Regions from separate parts of the Homo sapiens genome. Here region 1 is linked to region 2. The links are contacts of gene promoters, found by promoter capture Hi-C in blood cells and fetal thymus (Javierre and others, 2016). All regions are on one chromosome and are shown on one strand. Each heading gives the region's core, a stretch centred on a gene start or on the middle of the fragment in contact. The rest is flanking DNA. Distances are from core to core; before and after follow the strand shown.

The links. The method cuts DNA at HindIII sites, captures the fragments that hold promoters and counts their contacts. A CHiCAGO score of 5 or more calls a contact.
Region 1: a fragment that was not itself captured here is called in contact with the fragment with the promoter of THAP3 in region 2 in 4 of 17 cell types (neutrophils, total B cells, naive CD4 T cells and 1 more); the score reaches 7.0 in neutrophils.

What each region holds. Positions count from the first base shown.
Region 1 is chr1:5,984,269-5,988,052 of GRCh38, reverse strand. It overlaps NPHP4 (nephrocystin 4), which reads left to right. Exons shown (of 30, transcript NM_015102.5): 2 at 1,726-1,898. The coding sequence starts at 1,764. Among named protein-coding and RNA genes, the nearest start is that of NPHP4, 6.3 kb to the left of the region's middle. The HindIII fragment of the contact is 5,741 bases long and covers 1-3,784 here.
Region 2 is chr1:6,623,532-6,626,945 of GRCh38, reverse strand. It overlaps THAP3 (THAP domain containing 3), which reads right to left and starts at 2,078. Exons shown (of 6, transcript NM_001195753.2): 1 at 1,992-2,078; 2 at 1,654-1,796. The coding sequence starts at 1,727. It overlaps PHF13 (PHD finger protein 13), which reads right to left. Exons shown (of 4, transcript NM_153812.3): 4 at 2,916-3,414. RefSeq lists a silencer at 1,278-1,687. The HindIII fragment of the contact is 4,820 bases long and covers 1-3,414 here.

The DNA.
Region 1 (3,784 bases), core at 87-2,586, 640 kb after region 2:
AGACCTTCCAACTATTGACACATTTAATGGTGTAACCTTAGAAGATCACGTTATATCACTGCCCCTCTCATCAGGAAAGTCTTGAAGAAGTGTGAAGCTAGTAGGCTCATGGTAGAGGATACAAATGTTCTTAATTCTCATTTTTGCTTGGAAACTCCATTTTTGTTGCAGTTGTTTTCCCGGAAGTGACATGCTAACTTTGTTCACGTTTGAGAAGATGTCTGCCAAGTACCCATGTTTGTCTCTCAGTCATTCTTCTTAGTGAAAATGGTGTTGAATAATAAAAGCGGTGTGTTCAGCATGCAGCCCAGTCACAGCCAGGCTTCCCCGGGGATGACTGTTGCCTTTCAGTTTGCAGCAGAAATGCTTGTTGTGTATTTTCCATTTCGTCTCACAAAATTAAGAACGTGTGTACTCAAAGGTCAAGAAGTAATAAGATTAATAGTTTTTCCGGCTTCACCAAGGATGTTCTTACTTGAAGCTGCCTTGTTCTTTTCTGTGAGAGGTTGGGAGGACCTCACTCAACCCAACCAGCCTTGGGTTGAGTGAGGCCCCAGTGGCTTTCCCTGCTGCTGCCTCTGCCCCACCATGCCACCATGGTGAAAGAGATAACACCTGGGTGTCATGAAAATAGTTTTGACCTTGTAGAGCCCCTGACAGGATCCTGTTGAACCTTGGGTTTGGGGAATGTACTTAGAGAGCTGCTGTCTTAGAAGGCCAAACCCACTTCTTTTTCTCCTTACTCGCCATTTTAGTTTACGGAATTCAACCTCTTCTTGAGGTTCAGATCTTTGGATTCTGTGTTGGCTAGAGAAGATTTAGATCCCGGTCTGGCTGGACAGGATCAGATAACACTCAAAACGGGCCAAGACCCACCAAGAAGCTGGTAACACCTGAAACCTGTCCCCAAATGGCTTTAGCAACAAGAGACTTTGTTCATGTAGCTGAAGTGTCGTGGGGTGACCAACTGAGGTCTCTAATAATGACATGGGGACCCAGTGGCCCTCACTCCTACCTTTTCCTCTCTGCTTGTTTTTATGTGTGTCCTAAGGTGGCCCCGGGCAGTTTCAGGCTGACCACCTCTTGGCCCAAGGGCTGTATTCCCTCTCTCATGCTCCCTGGGTCCCCTACAAGACAGTCTTAACGCTAGGACTGTATTTCAGCAGCCACCCACCCCTGGTGTCCTTGTGTGGTATCCAACTTACACAGCTGAATAAAACATCCCTTCATGTCCCCATCCGGAACCAGCCACAGAGGTCAGGAGAGTCGTGCCCTGAGTCTGGCCCACGGGGGTAGGGGTGGGGCGGAGGGTTCTCTGGAGGTAGATTTTATTTCTCCATTTTATTTTTATTTCTGAAAAGGTAATTCGCATAGTTCAAAGTTGACAAGGATACACAGGAAAAGTGAATCATCCCATGTTGACCCCAGGTACCTGGTGTATCACCCTAGATACAGTGTGTTATTGTACAGCTTTCATAAATTCTAAGCAAATACAAATAAATATATCTACGTTTATTTTTCCTTTTTGAAATGCAAATGGTACTTCCTAGAGGAGGCAGCATGGGTGCCAGCCAGCAACAAAGTCCACTCTTCTGGGGTTTGCAGAGTGTGGGTTTGGGGGATGGAGGTTCCTCTGGGATTTAGTGGGAGGCAGAAGCCTTCAGGATTGCTGTGACCACTGTAGCCCTCACAGCTCTTCTCTTTATTTGAATACGACTGGCACAGATCATCCGGGAAGCCCACGGGACCCTCAGGCGGGCAGGATGAACGACTGGCACAGGATCTTCACCCAAAACGTGCTTGTCCCTCCCCACCCACAGAGAGCGCGCCAGCCTTGGAAGGAATCCACGGCATTCCAGTGTGTCCTCAAGTGGCTGGACGGACCGGTAATTAGGCAGGTAACAAAATGTGCTGTTAGCAAATGCGTGTTATTGCTCTTAGCTGACATGAGGCTTCCAGTTAACAGATGGATGGTCCCTGGCTTACGATGCTTTGATTTTTGATTTTGCTACTTTATGGTGGTACCCATATAGCCATTCTGTTTTTCACTTTCAGTGCTGTTTTCAATATATTACAGGAGATACCCAACATTTTATTTAAAAATAGGATTTGTGTTAGATGACTTTGCCCAGTTGTAGGAACATGCAAGTGTTCTGACCATGTTGAAGCTGGGCCACGCTAAGCTCTGATGTACAGTAGGTTAAGGGTATTAAATGCATTTGAACTTATGACATTTTCAACTTAAACAGGATAGAGTCCCATCATAGGTCAAAGAGCATCTGTATTGATTTTCACTTACTCGTTTGAGTCTTATACCACCATACCCATTACCTTGGGCCTTGGCAGTATTCGGATGCAAAGTGGCCCATCAGCAAAGAGAATCTATGATTCAATGACATGGTCAGCACTTTTGACTCTGGGTAGGGTTTCTTTCTGCCCACAGTGGAGCAATTTAAAAACCCAAGTACTCTGATTTCCTGGGTTATTTGTGAGCCAGGTGGCCTTGTGCATGGCTCAGCATGGCCCGCTTTCAGCCTGGCAGTGAGGACTGCAGGGGCTGAGCTACGGGCATTCTGGCAGCTCTGTGCGTGGCTGGATGTACCACGGCCTTGGGCACACTCAGGCCCAGGCCCTGATGGCGGCACATCCATCTGTGCCCTTCAGCTGGCGGGGAACCTGCTGGACAAGCTGGTGCTTCTGTGCTGCTGCCCACGGGACACCCACACGATTGGATTGTCCTCGTGAGGCCCAGTGGCCGGTGGGAATGCGTGAGAAGGATCAGTCTTGCCATTGTCAACCCTTTTTACAGGATTTGGCTTGGCAAGGCCGTTTTCCTCTGCAGCTGGGAGAGTGATATTCACATATATTCAGTTGTTGGAGCCCCGGGTCTGTGACTAATTTACTATTATTAAATCACTGATGTTCTATATCGTTCAATTCCAAGCCCTTGGATTGAGCACCTGCTGTGTCTTTGCCACTGTGGTAGGTACTGTGGTGGCTGCTGCTTTTGTAGCTTTACTTCTAGCACTTCACTGTGTTCATTCACTTAATCCTCAGAGCAGCTCTATGAGGCTGCCACCACCTTACTCCCGTTTTATAGACGAGCAGCAGCACCTGCTAATTAAGAGTGAAGCCAGCTGCCCAGGGCGACGGCTTTAGCTGGGATGCCACCCTCCTGGTCTGGCTCAGCCGCCTTCCAGAAGCTCACAGGATAGTTGATAGCCCTTCCCTCTTTCCTAGGAGTTTTGCAAAGGAAATTTTATTTCCCCATTTCATTTTATTTTTATTTGTGAAAAGGTAATGCACGTAGTTCAAAGTTGACAAGGATGCAGAGGAAAAGTGAATCATCCCATGGCATCCCCAGGCACCTGGTGTATCACCCTAGATACAGTGTGTTTTCGTACAACTTTCTTAAATTCTAAGCAAATACAAGTAAATATACCTACATTTATTTTTCCTTTTTAAAATGCAAATGGTACTTCCTGTATTCCGTTCTGTACCATTCTTTCTTTTTTTTTGAGATGAAGTCTCACTCTGTCACCCAGGCTGTAGTGCAGTGGTGTGATCTCAGCTCACTGTAAACCTCCTCCCCCTGAGCTCAAGTGATCCTCCTTCCTCAGCCTCCCAAGTAGCTGGGACCACAGATGTGCGCCACCATGCCCGGCTAAGTTTTTGTATTTTTGGTAGAGTCGGGGTTTCACCATGTTGGCCAGGCTGGTTTCAAACTCCTGAGCTCAGGTGATCTGCCCGCCTCTACCTCCCAAAGTGCTGGGATTACAGGTGT
Region 2 (3,414 bases), core at 829-3,328:
TCCCCAAGTACATACCTGACAGAGGCAAAACAGATAGATGCACTGCAACACAAGTCCCACCAAAACTGGCCAAAACAATGTTTGTTTTGTTTTGTTTTTTGAGACGGAGTCTCGCTCTGTTGCCCAAGATGGAGTGTAGTGGTGCGATCTCGGTTCACTGCAAGCTCTGCCTCCCAGGGTCAAGTGATTCTCCTGCCTTAGCCTCCTGAGTAGCTGGGATTTCAGGTGCGCGCTACCACGCCCGGGTAATTTTTGTATTTGTAGTAGAGAAGTAGAGACGGGGTTTCACCATGTTGGTCAGGCTGGTCTCCAACTCCTGACCTCAGGTGATCCACCCAGCTCGGCCTCCCAAAGTGCTGGGATTACAGGCGTGAGCCACCACGCCCAGCCTCCAGAACCATGTATTTGTCATCCAAAAAATGGGGCCACCCAAATGCCCTTCAATTGTAGAACAAATCAGTAAATTCTGGCACTTGCATTCAATGGAATATTATGTGGCAACGAAAGCGAATGAACTGCAATCCACTCTGATAGCGGGCAGGATAGGGTTCCCTTTGGGCAGGAGAGAGGAGGAGGGCCTGGGAGGGGGTCCAGGTAGGGGTTCTTCTCGGGGGTAGTGATGTTTTATTTCTTATTTTGAGATGAGGTATCGCTCTGTCACCCAGGCTGGAGTGCAGTGGCAAGATTATAGCTCACTGCAGCCTCGAAGCTGGGTTCAAGCGATCCTCCTACTTCAGTCTCCCGAGCAGCTGGGACTACAGGGGCACACCACCTTGCCTGGCTAATTTTTTTAAATTATTTGTAGAGGTAGGGTCTCCTTCTGTTGCCCAGGCAGGTCTCGAACTCCCAGGCTCAAGCGATCCTCCCGCCTCGGCCTCCCAAAGTGCTGGGATGACAGGCTTGAGCCACCGCGCCCAGCTGGTAACGTTTCAGTTCAGTGACGTTCACTTGGGGAAAACTCGCTGGGCTGTATACTTATGATTCGTGCATTTTTCTGCATGTACATTACGTATACTTCAAGCAAAGCATTTATCACAAAACAGAACAATGGGAGCAGAGGGAATGGGAACGATGAGCACAAGCCCCCCTTCGGAATGTGCCCAAAAGTGGGTAGAGAAATGGTGCCGTGACTGGACCTTGGAGAAAGCGCAACTGTGACTAATGACGATTGCTCCTGGGCCGGGCCGGGCCGGGCCGGGCGAGTGCTGGAGCAGACTCCAAAGTCTCCAGCGTCCTCCCGCGACCCTGCAGAGTCCCTTCCCACTGCCAGGACGCCCCTGGGGGTTCCACTCCTCCACTGCACTGCCCAGGTGCCGGGCTCCCTTCAGGACCGCGCGCGGCGGGGGCTGCAGCGACCAGGGACACAGCAAACCCCGGCCGCGGCCCGCTAGTCTGTTCAGCAAACACCTGCTCCGCTCCCTGCACGTCCCGGCCCTGGCCCCGCCAGGTGCGCCGCTGCCCCTCCGTCCGCCACTCCCCGCATCCCCGCGGCGGGCGCGGCGGCGCCAGCCCCTCTGGGCCCAGGACCTCGGCCTGTCCCCGGGCCCAGCGGCCGCACGCCTTTGGGCCTCCCGCCCGGCGCGCCAAGGCCTCGGAGTCGGTCCGCGGGCCCCGGGTCTGGGCCTCCCGCGCCCCCGGGTCCCCGCCTCTTACCGGTGGAAGGTGAGCTGCTTCCTGCGGCTGCTGTAGCGGTTGCAGCACTGCCGGGCCGCGCACGACTTCGGCATCTCGAGCCAGGCCTGGCTGCCCCCAACAAAGATGGCGGCGGCGGCGGGGCCTGCGGAGAGGGGAGGGACCTGCGGGGAGGGGCGGGGCCGCTGGGAGGTGGTGACGGGCCTGGCTCGCCTCCAGGGCGCGCTCATCCTGCCATCCCAGCCACCCGCGTCTCCCCAGGGTCGGACGGGACCCGGGGCGCCACGTAAAGGGGTGCTCCGGGCCCCAATTCAGGCCCGAAACCCCAACTCCTAGCCTTGGGCCTGTGCAAGTCTTACCCCATTCGCCAATGCTGGTCGCCTTTCACCTCCTTGCTTTGAGCACCCAACCAGGACGCATAGCCACTCACAGGCTTGGACAACTGGAAACCAACGGCCAACCCCTCAGTGTTTTTAGGGCTTTGAATTGTGAATAGGTCTGGACTCCTCTGACGTCACTGGAGGTGGTACTAGTTGGCCACTGGTGGTGTCAGTTCAGAGGCCAGACAGCTCACTGCCCTTAAGTTTGGTCACAGGGAACCCCCAAACGTGAAGAGGCAAAAAGGGCAACTGAAGGGGAGGGAGATTCCAGTTCAGGCCTTGCAGAAACTCCGAGGCTGCAGCTTTCTCAAAGCAGCCTATAGGGAAGGCGTCATCTTGTAAGAAGAAAAAAAAAAAAATCGGCCAGGCGCAGTGGCTCACGCCTGTAATCCCAGCACTTTGGGAGGCCGAGGCAGGCGGATCACCTGAGATCAGGAGTTCAAGGCCAGCCTGACCGACATGGTGAAACCCCATCTCTACTAAAAATACAAAAATTAGCCGCACATGGTGGCGGGCACCTGTAATTCCAGCTACTCGGAAGGCTGAAGCAGGAGAATCTCTTGAACCCGGGAGGTGGAAGTTACAATGAGCCAAAATCTCATCACAGCACTTCACAGCCTAGGTGACAAGAACGAAACTCAAGTCTCAAAAACAAAAAAAAAATCAAAAGTAGGCTAACCACTCACTGGGGCTTGAGCTAATCCTCAATCTGATGAAGAAACTGCAAAAACCATTCACATCTACTCGTCCTGTGGTTTGTTTCTAAGGAATTCACCAGCAAGGTACCTTAACACCGTGGGCATTTTCCATCCTGCTAAGTGCACACTGAGACGCTGCCTTCCCAGAGACTTGATGTAATCATGCTTTGGGGAGGTAGCAAGGAGAAAAGAAACACAATTGTCCTTCAGCACAGAACGCAATCGCCTGAACCTTGAATCATGAACCTCAAAGTAGCAATATATTTATTTACAAAATATACAGTTTCACAGAAACAGCTTCGCTTTATACACATAAACTTTAAAATTACACAGAACCATGTAAACGATGTGAAGTGTCTGGCCTGGCCAAAGCCAATGGGAGGGCCTACTTTTGGGGTGACATCCCTCCCTCCCCTCACTTCATTAGCCACCAACCAGGAACCACAGATGGGTCGTGCCTAATTTGCATATAAAGAAGCTGATTGCAGCTGCCCAGCTCAATCTAACACAAAAACCAAGGTGTCCGACTTCTTAGACACCACCCACAGGGACAGATCTGCTAAAAGAACAAAAATGCAATCAAGGAAACAAAATGGAGATGAGTATCACATGCATTCCAGAGGCATCGAACCTTCTAGCACACGTGACAGTTGCCAGGGCCGGCAGTTCCATTCTAAAGTCACATGGATTCTTAAATGCACCTT